5 separate regions of the Homo sapiens genome follow, and all the other regions are linked to region 1. The links are contacts of gene promoters, found by promoter capture Hi-C in blood cells and fetal thymus (Javierre and others, 2016). All regions are on one chromosome and are shown on one strand. The core of a region is centred on a gene start or on the middle of the fragment in contact, and the rest is flanking DNA. Distances in the headings are between cores, read along the strand shown.

The links. The method cuts DNA at HindIII sites, captures the fragments that hold promoters and counts their contacts. A CHiCAGO score of 5 or more calls a contact.
Region 2: a fragment that was not itself captured here is called in contact with the fragment with the promoter of PACC1 in region 1 in 9 of 17 cell types (fetal thymus, naive CD4 T cells, non-activated CD4 T cells and 6 more); the score reaches 7.2 in fetal thymus.
Region 3: a contact is called between a fragment that was not itself captured here and the fragment with the promoter of PACC1 in region 1, in 17 of 17 cell types (megakaryocytes, fetal thymus, endothelial precursors and 14 more). The highest score is 12.2, in megakaryocytes.
Region 4: a fragment that was not itself captured here is called in contact with the fragment with the promoter of PACC1 in region 1 in 1 of 17 cell types (M0 macrophages); the score reaches 5.1 in M0 macrophages.
Region 5: a contact is called between a fragment that was not itself captured here and the fragment with the promoter of PACC1 in region 1, in 14 of 17 cell types (fetal thymus, total CD4 T cells, naive CD4 T cells and 11 more). The highest score is 9.7, in fetal thymus.

The regions. Positions count from the first base shown.
Region 1 is chr1:212,413,021-212,417,492 of GRCh38, forward strand. It overlaps PACC1 (proton activated chloride channel 1), which reads right to left and starts at 1,866. Exons shown (of 8, transcript NM_018252.3): 1 at 1,702-1,866. The coding sequence starts at 1,737. RefSeq lists a silencer at 1,518-1,577. The HindIII fragment of the contact is 5,506 bases long and covers 1-2,151 here.
Region 2 is chr1:212,012,906-212,017,377 of GRCh38, forward strand. It overlaps INTS7 (integrator complex subunit 7), which reads right to left. Exons shown (of 20, transcript NM_015434.4): 4 at 3,981-4,118. Among named protein-coding and RNA genes, the nearest start is that of INTS7, 20 kb to the right of the region's middle. The HindIII fragment of the contact is 3,257 bases long and covers 438-3,694 here.
Region 3 is chr1:212,056,484-212,060,955 of GRCh38, forward strand. The region is part of intron 5 of DTL (denticleless E3 ubiquitin protein ligase adapter); the gene reads left to right. Among named protein-coding and RNA genes, the nearest start is that of MIR3122, 19 kb to the right of the region's middle. RefSeq lists a silencer at 1,450-1,650. The HindIII fragment of the contact is 3,947 bases long and covers 498-4,444 here.
Region 4 is chr1:212,753,187-212,757,658 of GRCh38, forward strand. All of the region lies in intron 4 of NSL1 (NSL1 component of MIS12 kinetochore complex), which reads right to left. Among named protein-coding and RNA genes, the nearest start is that of NSL1, 36 kb to the right of the region's middle. The HindIII fragment of the contact is 970 bases long and covers 1,645-2,614 here.
Region 5 is chr1:212,081,003-212,085,474 of GRCh38, forward strand. The region is part of intron 13 of DTL (denticleless E3 ubiquitin protein ligase adapter); the gene reads left to right. Among named protein-coding and RNA genes, the nearest start is that of MIR3122, 5.6 kb to the left of the region's middle. RefSeq lists an enhancer at 1,207-1,376 and a cis regulatory region at 1,292. The HindIII fragment of the contact is 1,278 bases long and covers 1,681-2,958 here.

The DNA of each region.
Region 1 (4,472 bases), core at 616-3,115:
TGGGCTTTCTGACTTTTATCCACTGTGCTCCACACCCTATAAACCTAAAAACTTTCAGACACATCTCATTCCCCAGGATTCCCCCACTGTTTAGGGTACAGAATCTAGGGGTCATGGAATCCACAGCACTGGTTAAAATCCCTCAGACTCCTTTCAGACAAAGGAAACAGATGGAATAAAGGGGATGGGAGGAGAAATATAGAAATCTGTCCAAGGCCAGATTCCAGCCAAGATCCTACACTAAAAAATGGCAAGCCTTAGGCAAATCTCATCTGCCTTCAAGTTGGCTTCTCCCTCCACTGTAGGGCTAAGCCACCTGCTTTATATAGTCCACAAAGCCCTTCTGTGAATCAGTCTTTTACAAAGGGAGATATGTACAGCAGTAACTATTGACTAAGACAGAAGGCAGCAAGTTCATTATGAGAAGGACAGACAGAAATGCAGACGGGTCTGGAAAGCGGACCCCTATGGAACACATGGAACTTGAGGTAGCCCTTGACTTCTGGGGGCATTTTACCCAATGGAGCTTGGCGGAGCGTTGATGAAGGAATGGAGTGAGCACACGCACAGAGGCAGGAGCACATTTTAAAACTGAGTTTCCACTGTGCCAGACCCTAGGTGGGTTAGGAGGTGGCAAAGGTAATGGGAGACATGGCTGCTGTGCTGTTCAGAGCTTTGGGAGCCTGCTGAGAAGTCTGGACTGTTCTGGGCAGACGAAGGGCAGCGTCAGGTCTGAGAAAAAAGGAATGCTCCGAGGTGAAGGCAGGGCCTCAAGGCAAATCTGGAGAGTATAAGAGACTAAAGGGAGCGATGGTAACACAGTATCGCACTCAGAGGTTACAGCAAACACAGGGACACAAACTGGAGGAGGACCGACCTGGAACTGCCTGACTTTGGCCAATGAGGCGGCACGATGGAGGGGCACAGAAGAGGACGGTTGCCAAAGATGACCAAGGTTTGGGGGCCGAGAAGTGGAGGCGGAGGAGGAGAGCAGTTTCACTAATACAGCTGGAGAAGTGAGGAGGCAGGGCTTGCTTGAAGGAAGCGCTGGACGCACAGCCTGCAGCGCAGGACAGAGAAGAGACAAAGAACTGGAAAGTGATAAAGTCGTGGGAGGAGGTGAGACTGGAGGGAGAGACGAAGAGGAGCGAGAACTAGCAGAGTCCATGAAGGCACTTTTTCAAAGTTAGGTGGTCACCAAAAAACAGGTAATCAATCCTGTCACCAGCCGCGGGGACAGCGAGGCCTTGGGCTTGGAGGGGGAGGATGCCGACGATGCCGACCGCGCATCAGATCTCGCCGGGAGGAGGGCGCGGGCGCTCCACTTGTTGCAAAGAACGCCGGGTTCCTCTGGGCCATTGGGCTGCCGCTCCGGCGGGGAGCGCGGAAGGCTGGGCCTCAGGTAGCTTCAATCATTCACCTGCTGGTTACGGGTCGCGGCGCCGGGGACCCTACTCCGGACCTCGGCCATGCAACCCGCAGCATACGGAGAACGCTGGGCGCCCGCTCCGCTGCCCCGCTTCCTTCCTGCCCCTGGGCCGCTCCTCTGCACCCCGGGAGCCCTCCCCTGACGCACCCGTCGGTCCCTCGGAAGAGCCCTCTGCCGCGCAGCCCCGACACCCCCCGCCCCGCATCCGCCCAGGCCCCCGGGACCCTGCTCCTCCGCCTCAAACTTCCCTTCCGTCTCTCACAACCTCGTACCTCCTGGTAGGATGTGGAGCGCTCCTGCCGGATCATGGCACTGACCAGAGCTTCGGCACACCTGAGACCGCCCCAGCCCGCGGCGCACGGACGCAGCACTGCGGCCGCTGCACCTGGACCTACCGGCTCCGCGAGGCGAAACCGGTCCGGAGGGGCGTCCCAGAGACCAGGCGTGGCGATACTCGGCGCATGCGCCTGGCCGCTGCCGCCCAGGAGTCGCGAAAGTGTTGATGGGAAATGTAGTTCTGGGCGGGGGCGCCCCTCACACCAGCTCTCACCCCTGTGGCGGAGGCCTGCATGTGACCCTGGGCCAGCTAAGCTGGTCCTTAGACGCGTGCCTCTGCGTCTCTCACTTCCTCTCTTTGTTGGAGGGGGAGGGACGGAGAAGAGGAGTGGAAAGTGGAACAAAGTCAGATGAGTAGGAGCCCCTAATCTATAATTGCAAGAGGAAGCTTGGCCTGGCGGTTTAAAACGGTAATAAATGTCTGGAGAGCACTTTGTATGTTAGTTACAAAGCGCTCTCACTCACATTATGCCGTTGATTCTGCAAGGAACCCTGTAAGAAGGACATTTTTCTCCCTAATTTACAAATGAGGAAACTGAGGTACTTTGTTTCAGAAAGGATGCGGGTGGAGCGGTAATCAAATGAAGATTATTTCATCCAGGGGTAGACTGCGGAGCCCATGTTCTCTCCATTATTCCAGGGGCAGGAGTACCCCTAGGTTCTTGTCCTGGCTCTGACCCTCCCCTTTAGGTCTTGCAATGCTCTGAGCCCTCCTCTCCTCGCCTTAGAATGCAACTGCTAAACCCTGCCCTGCCTGACAAGGCCTATGAAAGCAGAAAGGAAGGATCGTGCAGAGAAAGCCTAAAGCCGCTGTTCAGCCACAGAAGAAGCCTCAAGCGCTAGATGTGGCGTCAAATCTGGTGTTGGCCCTGTGGCAGGGTGGACCTGAAGACCACATCTTCCTCTCCTCCCACTGCCTGAAACAGCTGTTGTGTGAGGGCCCTCGGCTCCTCAGTGGTGAAGCAGATAGAGGCTGCTTGTTGTGCCTTGGTGAATGCTGCTCTGTGTCCCTTGCAGCTGCAGCTTGGTAACCCCTCCACTCAGGCCACTGGGAGCCTCTTCTCTCCTCAGTGATAAGCAGAATAGTGCCAGCCACATCAAAGAACCCTGGACCTCCTGGAGCATTAGCAATGGGAGGTCCCCATCACCTCTCCTGACCACTCACCCCTATCCTAGGCCCTCTGCTCTTAAATCTGTTATATGGGACAATATATATAGTGCCTAACACATTGTAGGCACTCGACAAATGTTTGTTAAATTTATGAATGGAACACTGATTCCAGCCATTTCATTTAACAGTTGCTTACCAAAACAAATTAACAATAGCAGACCACTAATTAAATTCCTTACTGTGTTAATACAATGGTACTTGATAGAACAAGTTCACACCATCATAGAATATTAGAGCTGGAAGGAACCAGAGAATTCTATTCCAACCCTGTCATTCCTCTCTAGTCTTTGTTGGTGTGACCAAACTGGAAAATTATGGGCTCCCACATTTGAAGGAGATACTGGCTAATAAAATATAAAATATGGCTTAACAAATACAATGTGCTGGGCACTGGGATACAGAAATGGATAAGATACCCTTGGGTCCTGGCTTTCGTGGCTCTTTCATGCAACTGTGGAGAGACAGATCATAAACATGTAAATAATGTTCTGTCCTTGCAGCCCCCAAGTCCTCTCTCCCATTCCTTCATGAGCACACACCAGTCAGGCTTTACTCCCCTCCACTCCACTGGAACAGTGCTTGTCAAGGTCACAAGTGACCTCAGTGTTGTCACATCAGATGGCCATTTTCCCATCCTCCTCTTTCTTGATTTATCAGCCACAGTGGACTTGGCTGATCCTCCCTCCTCCTTGATACGCGTTCCTCCCTGGCTTCCAGGACACCACACACTCCCGGCTTGCTCCTACCTCACTTTGAAGCCATCCTCACAGGGTTAACACGAATTCTGCACAGAAATAGAGTTATAATTAAGCATTAATCAGGCTGTAATTTGACCCACTTCCTTGTAGCCAAAAGTCATGTAGCACTAGATACTGACCATTTGCATCTCCACTGCTCCTACAGGTAGGATTTCTGACATTGGAATCATAAGGCTTTTGCTTAAGAATTGTTTAAGGCCAGGCCCAGTGGCTCACGCCTGTAATCCCAACTCTTTAGGAGGCCGAGGCGGGCGGATTGCCTGAGGTCAGGAGTTCGAGACCAGCCTGGCCAACATGGTAAAACTTCATCTTTACTAAAAATACAAAAATTAACCAGGCATGGTGGCGGGCACCTATAATCCCAGCCTCCCTAGCCTCCCTACTCAGGAGGCTGAGGCAGGAGAATCGCTTGAACCCGGGAGGCAGAGGTTGCAGTGAGCCAAGATCACACCATTGCACTCCAGCCTGGGCGACAATAGCAAAATTCTGTCTCAAAAAAAAAAATTGCTTAAAATGTTTTTCAGATCACAAATTCCAGTGAAACAGCTGACACCAACAAGTTTGAAGACACCAACAGAGGAATGGAATCAGCATGAGAATACAGCTGCTTCTCTCTCTGTCCAATGATTTCACCCTGTTCCCTTTGGCCAATCAGCAGTCTCCACACTTCAGCCTACTCCTTAAAAACCCTTAGAAAAGCCGCAAACTCCTTGAGAGAGGGTTTGAGGTTCCCCTCCATCTCCTCGATTGGAGGCCCTATTGGTAAGCCTCTTTTTCT
Region 2 (4,472 bases), core at 816-3,315, 400 kb before region 1:
AAACTAAATTTAGAAAACTATTTTTGGAAGCACTGGAAGTATATATTTAATCTGACAGACTATGAAGCACTGACACCTTGGCAGTGGTAATCAGATGGTAATTATTCCCTAGGCACAACTCCTAATCAATAAAAGTACAGTCATGTGCAGCATAACAACGTTTTGGTCAACAACACACTACATACTGACAGTGGCCTCAAGAGATTATAACAGAGCTGAAAAATTCATATTGGCCAGAGATGTCTTGATGTCTGACCCTGTGTAGGTCTAGGTTAATGTATGTGTCTCTGTGTCTTTTCTTTGAGGGGTCTCACTATGTTGCCTAGGCTGGTCTTGAACTCCTGAGCTCAAGTGATACCCCGGCCTCAGCCTCCCAAATAGCTGGAATTACAGGTGTGAGACACTGTGCCCAGCTATGTCTTAATTTTAACAAAAAAAGCTTATAGAATAAGGATATAAAGAAAGTATGTTTATACAGCTGTATGTTTGTATTTTAAGCTAAGTGTTATTACAAAAGAGTCAAAAAGTTAAAAGAAATTAAGACTTTACAAAGTTAAAAAGTTATAGCAAGGTAAGGTTAATTTATTGTTGAAGGAAGAAAAACTTCAAAAATAAATTTAGTGAAGCCTAAGTGTACAGTGTTTAGGAAGTCTACAGTAATATACAGTAATGTCCTAGGCTTTCACATTCATTTATCACTCACTCACTGATCACCCAGAGCAAATTCCAGTCCTGCAAGCTCCATTCATGGTAAGTGCCCTATACAGGAATACCATTTTTATCTTTTATGCCATATTTTTACTGAGCCTTTTCTATGTTTAGATATACATATACTTACCACTGTGTTCCAACTGCCTACAGTATTCAGTACAGAAACATGCTGTACAGGTTTACAGCCTGGGGCAACAGGCTATACCATATAACCTAGGTGTATAGTAGGTTATACCATCTAGATTTGTGTAAGTCCTCTACAATGTTTGCACAATGATGAAATTTCCTAACAATGCATTTCTCAGAATGTAACCTCATAGTTAAGAGACGTGTGACTGAAATTTTTAAAAGTCCTCTCAATACCAACGACTCTCTCAATGAGGGAAAAAAATGCTTATTTTCAAAGGCACAAATAGGAACTGTACTTATTCAGGTATTTCTGATCATCAATTACTGCTGCATCTATTAATTTTGATCTGTGAAATTAAAAATTATATGCTTTCTATTATCTACTTTTTCAGTAAGAATTCCTGGAACTCTGAAGGTTTGATAAGAATAGCTGAAGGGGCCGGGCACACTGGCTCACGCCTGTAATTCCAGCACTTTGGGAGGCCAAGGCAGGTGGATCACCTGAGGTCAGGAGTTCAAGACGAGCCTGGCCAACGTGCTGAAACCCCATCTTTACTAAAAATACAAAAATTAGCTGGGCATGGTGGCAGGCGCCTGTAATCCCAGCTACTTCGGAGGCTGAGGCAGAAGAATCACTTGAACCTGGGAGATGGAGGTTGCTGTGACCCGAGATTGCGCCACTGTACTCCAGCCTGGATGACAAGAGCAAAACTCCATCTCAAAAAAAAAAAAAAAAAAAAAAAAGCTGAAGAGGAGGGTATGCAAATACTATTTTTTAAATTTTAAAAAAATTTATCCTCTCCCTCCCCCTCCCCCTCCCCCTCTCCCCACGGTCTCCCTCTGATGCCGAGCGGAGGCTGGACTGTGCTGCCGCCATCTCGGCTCACTGCAACCTCCCTGCCTGATTCTCCTGCCTCAGCCTGCCAAGTGCCTGGGATTGCAGGTGCGCCGCCACGCCTGACTGGTTTTTGTATTTTTTGGTGGAGACGGGGTTTCGCCGTGTTGGCCGGGCTGGTCTCCAGCTCCTGACCGCGAGTGATCTGCCCGCCTGGGCCTCCCGAGGTGCCGGGATTGCAGACGGAGTCTCGCTCACTCAGTGCTCAATCTTGCCCAGGCTGGAGTGCAGTGGTGTGATCTCCGCTCGCTATAACCTCCACCTCCCAGCCGCCTGCCTTGGCCTCCCAAAGTGCAGCCTGTGCCCGGCCGCCACCCCGTCTGGGAAGTGAGGAGCGTCTCTAACCGGCCACCCCATCTGAGAAGTGAGGAGCCCTTCCGCCTGGCAGCCGCCCCATCTGGGAGGTGAGGAGCGCCTCCGCCCGGCAGCCGCCCCATCCGGGAGGTGGGGGGCGGCCCCCGCCCGGGCAGCCGCCCCGTCCGGGAGGGAGGTGGGGGGCAGCCCCTGCCCGGGAAGTGTGGGAAGTGAGGAGCCCCTCTGCCCAGCCGCCACCCCGTCTGGGAGGTGTACCCAACAGCTCATTGAGAACAGGCCATGACGACGATGGGGGTTTTGTCGAATAGAAAAGGGGGAAATGTGGGGAAAAGAAAGAAAGATCAGATTGTTACTGTGTCTGTGTAGAAAGAAGTAGACATAGGAGACTCCATTTTGTTCTGTACTAAGAAAAATTCTTCTGCCTTGGGATGCTGTTAATCTATAACCTTACCCCCAACCCCCTGCTCTCTGAAACATGTGCTATGTCCACTCAGGGTTAAATGGATTAAGGGCGGTGCAAGATGTGTTTTGTTAAACAGATGCTTGAAGGCAGCATACTCGTTAAGAGTCATCACCACTCCCTAATCTCAAGTACCCAGGGACACAAACACTGAGGAAGGCCGCAGGGTCCTCTGCCTAGGAAAACCACAGACCCTTGTTCACATGTTTATCTGCTGACCTTCCCTCCACTATTGTCCTATGACCCTGCCAAATCCCTCTCTCCGAGAAACACCCAAGAATGATCAATAAATACTAAAAAAAAAAAAAAAAAAAAAAAAAAAAAAAAAGTTAACTTTTCAGGATTCAAAAAATTTATTATTCACCTGGTTATAAAACTGGAACTTGCTCATGCCAAGATATAGAGATATAGAGAAATTTATAAAAAGAAAATAAAAATTATATACCATCTTACCAAGATTTTGATATATATCCTTCTAGTCTTTTTTTCTATTGCATAAATACAAATATTACGGCTTTTATTTTTTTTAAACAAATCTGTTACATTATATAAGCTATTGGGGTTTTTTAAAACAAACCTGTTATATTACATAACCTATTATGTAACCTGCTTCCAAATATGTTTCTAAAAACATTGGTTTTAAGTTGTTACCGTATTCTATTGTATGATCATAATTTATCTAAGCTCAATGGAAGAAATTTAGGTTGCTTCTCATTTCTTTTGTTGTTACAAGTAACACTACAACCAGCATCCATACAAATAATTATCAGTACATATTGCTGTTATCTTAGGATAAATTCTAGAAGTGAATTTCCTGGGTCAAAGGGATGTACTTGTTTAAGGCTTTTCATACATATTACCAAAATGCACCCCAGAAGGCAATGCTACTTTTCCTGTCAGTCAGGGAGATACTGTATTTTCTTTTACAGAAGAGAAGCCAATCAAACATAGTAATAAAACCATGGTCAACATTTAATCCTCCTGCCCAAAACAAAATACTGTTCTGTAAAACAACAGTGTAGGACATGACATTCTGAATAGGTTAAAATTGGTTTTAATTCAAGTTATTGTCTTTGCCAAACTGTGGACAGCTCTAATGCAAAACAAATTAACATTAGAAGACAGTAAGTAAGCAATTTAGTATTACAGATCTATATGTCTGGGAGAAGCTCCTCAGTCAACAAAGCTTCTGCTACCCAATGAAGCCTTCTCCAACTAATCTATGCTGATCCTGTCCTTCTGGAAACTCATTTCATTTACACAATTAATGCCAACATTTGTACTTACATTTTCCATTTTATGAATTTAAGTCTTGTTTCCCCAACATAAGGTAAACCTTCTTGGAAAACACACCTTGTAATTTACACTTTCCTGTATCTCTCAGTGTTTATATAAGTTGATCAGTTTTTCCTTCAAAAATTTTTCTTGGGAAGCCAAATTACTAAAAGGGATGTACTTTTGTAAGCTTACTTTGACTGTGCAGAGAAGTTTGCAGCAGCAAAAACAGCAGCTTCAACTTCTACATTATCATGTGAATCTAAACTCTGACGAATACTATGATGAGCATTCTTCCTCTCAGGAATTATTGATGCCAGACTTCCCAACATCCTACAGAAACAGAGAAACCCAAGAAGATCGGGCATAAAATAAAGTCAAGGTCAGAAAAGTAAGAGGCAAGGCAAAGTCAGATTATCAAAACTAAAGTTTATAGGTAATTCTATGTAACTCCAGTTAATAAAGCATAACTTTAGAAATCCATGACTCAAATTTTAAACGCTTTTACATATTTCAATATGTCAGAAAAATTAAAATGGCTTATCTAAAAAGCAAAATTTTTAACAATCACCTTGAAGTACCTCCCAGGTACCAAACAGCCCAGGAAGGAAACTTCTGAATTATTAAAGCATCAAAATATCAATTTTCCAATGTTGCATAAAGAAGTCCATTTCAGCAAAGCATTAA
Region 3 (4,472 bases), core at 1,221-3,720, 360 kb before region 1:
TCAGGAAAATGTTCTCCACTACAAACCAAATTCAAAAAATTGGAAAAAGCAACTGTTACACCAGGTGCACAAATATCAACATAAAAACACAGAGAAATCAAAAAGCAAGGATATGTGACACATCCAAAGGAACACAGTAATTCTTCAGCAACAAATCCCAATCAAAAAGGAATTCTCAAAATCCTGGAAAAATGATCCAACATACTGATACTAAGGAAGCTCAGTGAGAGAAAAGAGAATTCTGAAAGACAATACAAAGAAACAGAAAAATAATTGAGGAAATGAATGAGGAATCTACCAAAGAGATAGGTATCATAAAATAGAGCTAAATTCTGGAACTACAGAATTCATTTAATGAAATACAAAATACCTTTGAAAGCTTCAACAATAGACTAGATCAAGCAGAAGAATCCCAGAACTTGAAGATGTTTTGAAGATCTTTTAAAATAACCTACTCAGACAAAAATAGAGAAAAAATAATAAACATGAATGACTAAAGCTTTCATGGCATATGGGACACTATAAAGTGGCCAAATATATGAATTTTCAGTGTCCCAGAAGGCAAAGATAAAATGAAAGGGTTAGAAAGCCTATTTAACAAAATAATAGGTGAAAACTTCCCAAGTCTAGCAAGGGATTTATATATCCACATACAGGAGGCTCCAAGATCCCCACATGGATATAATTCAAAAAGGTTTTTTTTCCATGGCACATTGTAGTCAAACTCAAAAGTCAAAGACAAAGTGAAAATTCTAAAAGCAGAGAAAAAACATCTAGTCACCTATAAAAGAAACCCCATCAGACCTAACAGCAGATTTCTCAGCAGAAATCTTATAGTTCAGGAGAGAATGAGATGATATATTCAACATGCTTAAAGAAAAAAAAAAAAACCTGCCACCCAAGAATACTACACCCAGTAAAATTATCCTTCATAAATAAAAGAGAAATAAAGTCTTTCCCAAACAAGCAAAAGCTGAGGAAATTAATCACCAGTAGATGGGCCGTACAGAAAATACTAAAAGGAGTCTTATACCGGGAAGTGAAGAGCAATATTTACTGTCATGAAAACACAAGAAAATATAAAAACTACTGGTAAGCAAACACACAAACAAGAAAGAGGAAAGGCTGAAATGTTACCACTACCGAATACCATGAAACCATAATGATAAAAAGTACCAGAGAAAGGAAGGAACAAAGGATATACAGAACAACCAGAAGTCAATCAATAAAGTTAGGAATAAGCCTTCACATATCAATAACGTTGAATGTAAACATGTTAAACTTTCCATTTGAAAAGTACAGACTGGGCAAATAGACAAATGTGACCTAATTATATGCTGCCTACAAGAAACGCATCTCACCTGTGAAGACAAGTATAAACTGAAAATAAAGGAATGTAAAAAGATACTACATGCAAATGGAAACCAAAAGCAAGCAAGAATAGCTATACTTACATCAGATAAAACAGACTTTATGTCAAAAGCAGTAAGAAGAAACGAAGGTTATTCTATGATGATAAATCAGTTCAGCCAAAGGATATATCAATTGTAAACATGTATATACCTAACACTGGAGCACACAGATATATAAAGCCAATACTATTAGATCTAAAGGGAGAGACTCCAGTGCAATAACAGTTGAGGACTTCAGCCACCCCACTCAGCGTTAGACAGATATCTAGAAAGAAAATTGGATTTAAACTGCACATTAGACCAAATGGACCTAAGAGATATTTACAGAACATTTCATCCAACAGCTACAGAATACACATTCTTCTCATCAGCAAACAGAATATTCTCCAAGCTAGACCACATGTTAAGACACAAAACAAGTCTCAACACATTTTTAAAAGTTGAAATAATATCAGGAATCTTCTCAGACCACAATGGAATAAAACTAGAAATCAACAACAAAAGGAAGTTTGGAAACTACAAATACGTGGAAATTAGGCAGTATGATTATGAATGACTTGGGTAAAGGAAGAAATTAAGGAAATTTTTACAATTCTTGAAACAAATGAAAATTGAAACCCAACATACCAAAACCCATGGGATACAATAAAAGCAGTACTAAGAGGAAAGTTTATAGCAATACACACCTATACCAAAAAAGTAGAAAGACTTTAAAAGAATCTAACAATGTACCTCAAGGAACTAGAAAAGCAAGAACAAACCAAACCCCAAATTAATAGAGGGAAATAATAAATAGCAGAGCCTAACTAAATAGAGACTTAAAAAAACAAGAAAAAGGGTCAACAAAACAAAAGGTTGGTTTTTGGAAAAGATAAACAAAATCAATAAGGTACTTGCTAGACTAACCACGAAAAAAAAGAAAGATGGTCTTAAATAAAATCAGAAATGAAAAAGGAAACATTGCAACTGATAATACAGAAATACAAAAGATCATCAGAAACTATTGTGTACAACTATACACTAACTAGAAAACCTAGAGGAAATGGATAGATTACAGGACACATGCAACCTACCAAGACTGAATCAGAAAGAACTAGGAAACCTGATCAAATCAATAGTAACAAGATCAAAGCAATAATAAAAAGTCTTCCAACAAAGAAAAGTTCAGGACCAGATGGCTTCACTGCTGAATTCTACCAAACTTTTAAAGAACTAACACCAGTTCTCAAACTATTCCAAAAATTGAAAAGGATGGGAATTCTCCCTAACTCATTCTACAAGGCCAGCATTATTCTGATACCAAAACCAGACAAGCACAAGGACACACACAAAAAAACTACAGAACATACGGACATAGATGCAAAAATCCTCAACAGAATACTAGCAAACTGAATTCAACAGCACATTAAAAAAAAAAAATACACCATGATCAAGTGGGATTTATCCCAGGAATGCAAGAATAGCTCAATATAGACAAATCAATAAACATGATACATACGTCATCAACAGAATGAAGGACAAAAACCATATGATCATTTTAGTAGATAGAGAAAAATAATTCGATAAAATTCAGCATCTCCTCCGAATTAAAAAACTCAACCAACTAGGCATGGAAGGAACATATCTCAACATAAAAAGGCTGTATATGACAGACTCACAGTTAACACCACACTGAATCGAAAAAAGCTGGAAGCCTTTCCCTTGAGAACTGGAACAAGACAAGGACGCACGCTTTTCACCACTCCTATTCAACATGGTACTGGAAGTTCTACCCAGAGCAATCAGGCCAGAGAAAGAAGTAAAAAGTATCCAAACTGGAAAAGAAGTTGTATTTTCCTTGGCTGATGTTATGATCTTATATCTAGAAAAACTTAAAGACTCTACAAAAAAAAAAAAAAAAAAAAAAAACCTCAGATCTGATAAATTCATTAAAAGTTGCAGAATACAAAATCAACATACAAAAAAAATAGCATTTCTATACATCAATAATGAATTAGCTGAGAGAGAAATCAGGAAGGCAATCCCATTTACAATAGCTACAAAAAAATAAAACACTTAGGAATAAATTTAGCCAAAGAGGTGAAAGACCTCTATAAGGAAAAGTATGAAACCGATCAAAGAAATTGAAGAGGAGACAAATGGAAAGAGACCTCATGCTCATGGATGGGAAAAAATTATTATTTTTAAAATGGCCATACTACCCCAAGCAATCTACAGATTCAGTGCAATCCCCATCAAAATACCAACATCATTTTTCACAGAAGTAGAAAGAACAATCTTAAAATTTATGTGGAGCCAAAAAGAACCCAAATGCCAAAGCAATCCTAAGCAAAAAGAATATAGCTAATATAATAACTAAAACAGCATGGCATAAAAACAGACACAGAGACCAATGGAACAGAATAGAGAATTCAGAAATAAATCCATATATTTACAGCCAATTGATTTTCAATAAAGGTGCCAAGAACCTACAATAAACGGTGCTGGGAAAACTGGGTATCCACATGCAGAAGAATGAAACTGTACCTCTATCTCACTATATTAAAGAAAATCAAGATAGGCCAGACATGGGGCTCATGCCTGTAATCCTAGCACTTTGGGAGGCCAAGGCAGGTGGATTGCCTGAGCTCAGGAGTTCAAGACCAGCCTGGGCAACATGGCAAAACCCCACCTCTACTAAAATACAAAAAATTAGCTTGACGTGGTAGGCGCGCCTGTAGTCCCAGCTGCTTGGAAGGCTGAGGCATGAGAATCGCTTGAGCACAGGAGGCAGAAATTGCAATGAGCCAAGATAGCACCACTGCACTCCACCCTGGTTGACACAGTGAGACTCAGTCTCAAAAAAAAAAAAAAAAAATCAAGATGGAGTATAAAGACTTAAATGTAAGACCTGAAACAATAGAACTACTAGAAGAAAACATAGGGAAAACACTTCAGGATATTGGTTTAGGCAAAGATTTTATGGCTGGCCAAGAACTCAAAAGCACAGACAACAAGAACAAATAGATAAACTAGACTATACTAAACTAAAAAGCTTCTGCATGCCAAAACTTTTTGAAT
Region 4 (4,472 bases), core at 880-3,379, 340 kb after region 1:
TCACCACCTCCTTCAGTACCATGTTGCACCTCTCTTAAGGCACACTTTCAAACTCCTGACCCTCGCTCGTTATTATCTGGCCTCAGCCAAGTTTTTGACATTGTCTTGCAATGCTTCTTCCCTCTATTACTCACTTCACTACAGCCTCTCTGGTCTTTTGTTCCATGAATACTCAAGCTCATTCTTGATTTAAGAACTTTATTCTAGCTCTTCCCTCTGCTTGACAGCTCTTTTTCTTGATCATCACCAGATAAATTCCTTCCTGTTACTACCTCAGAAAAGTGTTTCCCCATCACCTAAACACACCACCCTAAAGCACTGATGTCACTTATTTATTTTTATATTTATTACTTTTCTTCTCCCACTAAAATATAAACTCTATAGAGTAAGAACTTTGTGCTGCTCACTAATATTACATCTGCCACATTGAGAACAGTTCTGTCATACTGTAGCCATTCAATATATACAACTGAATGGACCAATGAGTAACAGTCACTCATGATGTATTTATTGGGCATGCTGCTATATGCTGGCTATATATAATGTAAATATAATATTAAAAAACTCATGGAGCTTTCAGTTTTGTGAGAGAGCATAAACAAGAAAATAAACACAAATACTTATAAGCTGTAACAAGTACTATTAAGGAAATAAACAGGTGTCATGATAAACAACTGGGGAGAGTATTTTAATGAGGGTGGTTAGGTAAGATCTCTCTGAGGAGGTAACATTTAAATGAGAAAAGAGAACTGGGAAGATGTCAAACTTGGGCAAGGGGGCATGCATGTGTGACAGTGAGGCACTTTCAAAGAACTGAAAGACTGGCAGCAAACAGGAAAGTGCCTGAAATAAATCTGGAGAGGTAGGTAGGGGCCAGATCACCTAAGGGAATGCTAAAAGTCTAGAGTTTAGGATTTTAAGCAGAGGACTGAAAACTGATTTGCATTTTTAAAAGTATCCTAAGACTTCCTAGTCAAGTTGATTTCAGTAGTGCATAAAACTCCCTTCCTATGTCCAAAAGCATCAGTGAATATAGAAAATTAAAATGACATATCCTAAAGCATATACAAAATAAAACATTTCAATGAACCAGAAAAAAAGGAGAAGAGAAAAAGCTGCAAGTCAGGCTAAAGCTGCAGGCCTACCGGTAAGCAGAAGTAGCCAGGAATTGGCCTCCTGCAAGATAAAAGGTGTTCGAAGTGCTCCAGAAGAACAGGAAACGAAGAGACAGCTTCACTGTTTGAAACCGAGGGCTGAGACAGAGTTTACCCACCCTGAAAAGGTGGCTGAAAAAAACTGCCACTAACCAGCCCGGCGCGGTGGCTCACACCTGTAATCCCAGCACTTAAGGAGGCTGAGATGGGTGGATCACGTGAGGTCAGGAGTTGGAGACTAGCCTGGCCAACATGGTGAAACCCCGCCTCTACTAAAAATACAAAAATTATCCGGGCGTGGTGGTGGGCACCTGTAATCCCAGCTACTCAGGAGGATGAGGCAGGAGAATCACTTGAACCCAGGAGGCAGAGGTTGCAGTGAGCAACCATTACATTCCAGCCTGGGCAACAAGAGTAAAATTCTGTCTCAAAAAAAAAAAAAAAACCAACTCAAAAGACAAAACTGCTCCTAACCGCTGCCAGGAAGCAAAGCTTACTTAAAGCTAAACCAGAAATGATGGGAAGCAGATAATGCCTCCAAGCCTGGGCCTGGACCAATCTCCAGTGTCACACTGGGACAGAGGCCCTCTGTTGCCAGTGTTAAGATATGGCTCCAGCCTGGGATTGTTTGGGGCCAGATGGAAGGCAACCAAACCTACTAGACAGAGGGAGTGAAAGCAGTGGTAGACAGATATGCACATGAAAAATTCTAGTCAAGAAGCACTTGCAAATCAAAAGTCTAAAATACATGAAGAAATTAAAACCATGAAAGACAGCCAGTATAACCAATGTCAGGGAGAGGAATTTACTGCAGATGAAATGAAAATAGAGCAATATAAAAATGACTTTAAAATGCTACACAGCTCCAATAGCTAAAGAAAATCATAAGACATTGCAAAAGAAAAATAGGTTATAAAATAAAAACATAAAATACAAAAATAGAAGAAATGAGAAAGAAGCAAAGTTGAAGGATTAGGTTAAAGATTTTCTAGAATATAGGAGTCCTCAGATAAAAGTATATATGGAGATGTTAATGGAAGATGGGAGAAAAGAGGAATCTAGCAAAACCAAATAATCTCTCACAAAAAACAAAAATACATATATAATATTATTTAAATAAAATTGTCTCTGTGTATATAAGCAAGAAAAAAATTACCAATAAAAACCATGGAGTTGAACTATGTTACATGTTGAGTGAAAAAAGAAAAACAATGACAGAATAAAATGCATTATGTAATATTTATATAAACAACTAAAAAAACCCCTGTGTCTACCTATGTGCATACAAATGCATTGATAAAGATCTAAAATTAGACACAGCAAACTGATAATAGTTGCCTATTTGAAGATGTGTGGGATGTGACAGATTGGGAGGCGAAGTTATGGTATATTTCATATAAATATGAATATGTATATATTTTCATATATATCTATATGTAATTATTAAAAATTTTACATTAAGCTTGCATTTATTAAAAGCACAAGAAATACAATTTAAAAGATAACCACAATTTAAAACAATAAGGTTAGAGCTACGGCAGTCGAATGGAGGATGTCTACCATAAACTTAAGCTAGGAAATTGCAGATAATTTGAACACATGAATAAATTTTCTGTAAATTATGCCCCCAAAATGTCCAGTGCATATTTATTCCTGTAACAATTATATAAGCACAGAAAAAAGGATAAATGAATTCATACCAGGTTAATGTTGGATATCTAAAGGGGTGACAGGAAGAGAGAGAAGAAACCAAAAACAAAAAGTAAAAATACAATGCTATCCTTGTTGGGTTTTTTTGAGACAGGTTCTCACTCTGTCACTCAGGCTGGAGTGTAGTGGCAGGACCATAGCTCACTGCAGCCTTGACCTCCTGGGTTCAAATGATCCTCCCTCTGCAGCTTCCCGAGTAGCTGGAACTACAGGCATGCACCACCATGCTTGGCTAATTTTTGTATTTTTTGTAGAGACGGGGTTTTGCCATGTTGCCCTAGCTGGTCTCAAACTCCTGTGCTCAAGCGATCAGCTTCCCAAAGTGCTGGGCTTACAGGTGTGAGCCACTGCATCCGGCCGACTTTGGTTTTTAAAAGGGACAATGTAATATGTAATTCAATCCTATTTATATAAAATTATGTATTGTTTGCAAAAATATAAATATTTATTGAGTGTACCATGTCAGAAAATAATCTTAAGAGTCAGGGGCTGGGCGCAGTGGCTCATGCCTGTAATCCCAGAACTTTGGGAGGCCGAGGTGGGAGGATCACCCGAGTTCAAGACTTTGAAACCAGCCTGGCCAATATGGTGAAACCTTGTCTCTATTAAATATGCAAAAGTTAGCCAGGTGTGATGGCGGGTGCCTGTAATCCCAGCTAGTCTAGAGGCTGAGGCAGGAGAATCACTTGAACCTGGGAGGTGGAGGTTGCAGTGAGCTGAGAGCGTGCCACTGCATTCCAGCCTGGGCGACAGAGCAAGGCTCCGTCTCAAAAAAAAGAAAAGAAAAGAAAAAAGAGGGAAAACTGGGCATCCCAAAGTTCTTGCTCACAGGGAGCTTACAATACTGTGGGGAGGGAAGAGGAAAATAAGGAGAAATTATATAATATCTGTAAGTGGCAGAGAAAAATAAAGCAGGTTAAAGGGATACAGTATGATCAAGGGAGTCATAAGAGAATCTGACACAGGTTGTAAGGTGTATCAGATGAAGTGACACTTTGAACAGAGAGCTGAATGAAGTGCAAGAGTCAGGCAGGTAGTTTCGGAGAGCAGTTTCAAATACAGGGAGTTGCGAGTATGAAAGTCGTAGGGCCAGTGTGTTCTTGGTATGTCCTGAAATAGCAAGAATATTAGTGTTAGTGGAGCACAGTAAGCGAGGGTGAGATGGTAAGTGAACACTGTCAGAGATGAGATCAGAGAAGCAGCCGGGGACCATATCATTGAGGGCCTCTTAGACCAAAGGAATTATAATGGGGAGCCACTGGAGGGCCTTCAACAGGGAGTGACATAATCTGATTATGCTTTAAAAGAAATTGTTTGGATGCTGTGTGAAAAGTAGAACTGGATGGAAGGAGACCAGGGTGTTAGTCTGTTTTATTACTATAAAGGAATATGTAAGACTGGGTAATTTATAAAGAAAAGAGGTTTAATTGGCTCACAGTTCGGCAGGCTGTACAAGCATAGCACCAACATTTGCTCAGCTTCTGGTAGGGCCTCAGTGAGCTTTCAATCATGATGGAAGCCAAAGGAGGAACGGTACATCCATGGCAAGAGATGGAGCAAGGATGTGGATGTGGGGAGGTGCCACAGTCTTTAAAACAACCAGCTCTC
Region 5 (4,472 bases), core at 1,070-3,569, 330 kb before region 1:
TTGCTAGGGATTCAGCAATGAACAAAAGAATAAAAAATCCTGAAGATGTAAATAGAGCTAACATATTAGTGTGAGAGGCAATAAACAAGATAAAAAAGTAAAATATATACTGTGTCAAATAACAATAAGGGCTTAGGAATAAAGGAAATAGGAAAGGGAGAAGGGCAAGGGTGAAATATGCTATCAAAATTTTATATTAGGTGACCAGGGGGGCCTCAATGAAAAGATGGCATTTGAGTAAAGAAAGTGAAGTAGTAAGCCATATAGATATTTTAAAGAAGAATATTCCAGGCAGATAAAAGTACACAGGCCCTAAAGCAGGAGCATGCTTGGCATATTTTCTCTTCCTCAGAGAGGCTAGCATGGCTGGCCCCTAGGGCTGCAGCAGGCAAAGGAAAGGGAGGGAATAGTAGTAGAAAATGAAATTCTGTGAGACTTTGGCTTTTATTTTGATAGACAAAAGTCCACCAGAGGGTTTGGAGCAGAAGAGTATCATAATTTGACTTTTAACTTGATCATTCTTGCTCCTGTGTTGAGGATAAATTGTAAGGGGGTCAGGGTAAAAGCAAAAAGCTACTTTTAAAAAGCCATTGAGATAATCCAGGAAGTGATGATGGTGACTTAGACCAGAGTAGTAGCAGAAGCTATGGTGAGAAGTCATCCAATTTTGGATATATTTACAAGACAGAGCCAACAGAATATGTTGAGGGATCAGATGTGGGGCTATATGGGAGAGTTATCAAGGATAACTTCAGAGATTTTGCTTAAGAAGCTGAAAAGATGGAGTGTCATTAACCTAGATAAATATCCCTGCAGGAAGAGCAAGTTTGGGAGGGAACAGCTGGAGTTCCATTTGGACATGTTGTTTGATATGATTATTAAACACCCAAATGGACATGTCAGGGAGGCATTTCGATGTTTAATTCTGCAGTTCAGGGTTGAAGTTGCAGATGTGAGGTTCATTATCACACAGGGTGAAGATAGCTATAGATAGAAAAAAATAGGCCTGGTGTCTTGGGGTACCCCGATGTTTAGAGGTTGAGGAGGTGACAAATACCATTAAAGCCTACTGAGCAGCCACAACCAGAGAAGTAAGAGAAAAACTGGGAGAGTGTTACATCCTGGAAGCCAAGTAAATAAGAGGAGAGAGGGATGAACTTGATTTGATGTTTCTGGTATACCAAATAAGGTGAGGCCTAAAAACTGACCAATGGATTAGGCAATCATAGGGGTTATTTGGTGACCTTAATGAGTGTTGTTTTGGTGGTATGATGGTGGCCTGATTGGTGTCATTCATGTATATGACTTGGGGACTACAAGTATAGACAGTTCTTTCAAGGAGTTTTGTTATAAAGGAAAGAAGAGAAGTGAAGTGGTAGCTGGAGAAAGAAGCAGGGTTGAAGTTTGCTGGGGTTTTTTTAAATAGGAATATAACATTTCACAGTGATTGGCAGGATCGTATAGAGAGGGGGAGATTGATGCAGGGGAATTTGCTGGAGCAATGTTAAGCATGAGGGGATACTATCTGATACACAGTAGGAGGGTAGGCCTTTGCCAGGAACATGGATAGTTGACCCATAGTAATTGGAGAAAAGGTGGAATATATAAGCATGGTGCAGGTAGGCTACTGAGAGATGGTGGGGAGAGAGGTGGAGAGATGAGATGGCCATAACTTACAGAAGCTTCCTTCTGTTCTGATGTTAAAACATGAATCAGGGTTATTAACTGCGAATGAGGATAAGGGAGAAAGGGAGTAGAGATTTTAGAAGAGATAAGAAAGTCTGAAATTGTCACTGAGAGAATAGAGGAATAAATGGACAGGAAAATATGATTGTTGGGCTTCAAGAGTCAACTTGAGGCTAGCAATAATTAATTGAAAGTGAGCACTCCACATGGTTGTGTGTTTGCTATGCAAGTACAAGTATACTATAGGTAGAGAGCTAGATTTAACCAGGGATGTGGTTTAGCAATGCAAGTGAAGAAGGAAGTTGACAGTGGATGCAAAGAGGATGATTATGACTATAAGATATAACCTTGGTAAGGAGGCATATTAGTCCATTTTCACACTGCTGATAAAGACATGTACAAGACTTGGCAATTTACAAAAGAAAGAGGTTTAATGACTTACAGTTCCACATGACTGGAAAGGCCTCACAATCATGGCAGAAGGCAAGGAGGAGCAAGTCACATTTTACATGGATGGCGGCAGGCAAAGAGAGAGATTGGGCAGAGAAACTCCCCCTTATAATATTGTCAGATCTCATGAGACTTATTTGCTGTCACGAGAACAGCATGGGAAAGACCTGCCCCCATTATTCAATTACCTCCCACCAGGTCCCTCCCACAACACATGGGAATTCAAGATGAGATTCAGGTGGGGACACAGCCAAACCATATCAGGAGGGAAGTAAGGACATAATGGGGCCAAGGGATAGTGTAAATGTGGTACTAGCAGTGGATTGAGGATAAAAGATTGTTGGAATTGAAATACTAAAGGGAGATGGGAAAATAAGTGGTGATGAGTGGGATGATTGAAATTAAGATAATGGAAGATTTCCAGGTATTGGTAATAATAAGGTAAAGAATAAGTGGCTTAGGAGAGTGAAAGGACAAGATTATAGAAGAAGGAGGTCAAAAAACTGAGAAACCAAGGTATTGGAAAGATCATGTACATAGATTTTTTAATCACCATAAATTGACAGATAATGTTGAAGAGAGTAACAATGAACCAAGAGCAAAAATCTTCAAGCAATGAGCCACCCACAGTGTGGATCCTCAGGGTATCATTAGATGTGCTGTATACTTGTACTTACATGGTAAACACACAACCTTGTGGAATGCTCACTTTCAATTAATTACTGCTAGCCTCAAGTTGACTCTTACTGGCCAACAATCATATTTCCCTGTCCATTTACTCTTATATTCTCTCAGTGACTGTTTCAAACTGTCTTATCTTTAAGCTTGAGTTTTAAGCTTAAAGATTCATTTTACTTCAGCCATCAAGGCCTAAGGTTAATGGGGAATTGAAGGTGAGAAAGGGAAAATATACAGGTTCATTTTTCTAAGGACTTATTTAGTTGCTTATAAGATGCAGAACTAGACTTCAGAGGAGTCTTTTGCTCTAAGTCTGGTTTCTGTAGTCTTTGATGGTGCTGCCTTATTTGTTTTTGCTCTTTGCTTTTTTTAATTTCTTTTTTTCTTTTCTTTTTTTTTTTTTGAGACAAAGTCTCACTCTTGTCGCTGAGCCTGGAGTGCAGTGGCATGATCTCAGCTCACTTATTCAAGCAATTCTCCTGCCTCAGCCTCCTGAGTAGCTGGAATTACAGGCGTGTGCCACCATGCCCAGCTAATTTTTGTATTTTTAGTAGAGATGGGGTTTCACCATGTTGGTCAGGCTGGTCTCGAACTCCTGACCTCAGGTGATCCACCCGCCTCAGCCTCCCAAAGTGCTGGGATTACAGGCGTGAGCCACCGTGCCCAGCCCTAAAAATTTTTTTTCATTAATTTAGTATTACAGTTTAATAAGTCAGCTAGTTCTACAACAGTGAATAAGATAAATAGCAGTCCACAGACCCTCTGCCTCATAGTTTCCCTTTCCCAGAGGCAACCTCTTTCAAATCCTTTTGCTGATTCTTTGATATGTATGTCTAGACCTCTAAATAGTTTTGTGCATTTCTATTTATTTTTTGCAATTTTCAGCTTTATTAACTTCTTTCCTTTGTAACATGAGGATTTAACTCCCTTTCCTGTGTCCCACCACTATCAAACCTTCATACTCCTCATCCTCCTAACACAGGGTCATGATTTTGGTTAAATCAAGATACAGCTCAGTTCCTTTTAGTATGCAGTTGTCCCTCAGGATCCATGGGGGATTGGATCCAGGAACCCCCAACAGATACCAAAGTCCACAGAAGCTCAGATTCATTATCTATGATGTAGTATTTGCCTATAACCTATGTACATTTTCCCATATACTTTTATCATCTCTAGATTACTTAAAATACCTGGTACAGTATAAATGGTATATTAATAGTTGTTGTACTATATCATTTAGGGAATAATGACAGGAAAGAAAAGTCTGCACATGTTTAGTACAGACACAACCATCTTTTTTCGTGTTTTTGTTTTAATATTTTCAATTTGTAGTCAACTGAATGCATGGCTGTGGAACCCAGTATACAGAACTCAAGATATAGAGAGTCAACTATATTTAGAGTTATGTAGTCATTAATACAATCTAATTCTAGAATATCTTCAACACCTAAAATGAGGGTTCCAATTTCTCTTATGTTCTTGTCAACATTTGTTATTGTCCATCTTTTTCATTATACCCATCCTAGCAGGTGTGAATTAGTGTCCCATTGTGGTTTTGATTTATATTTTCCTGATGGCCAGTGATGCTGAACATCTTTTCATGTGCTTATTGGCCATTTATATATTTTCCTTGGTGAAATGTCTATGCAGATCTTCTG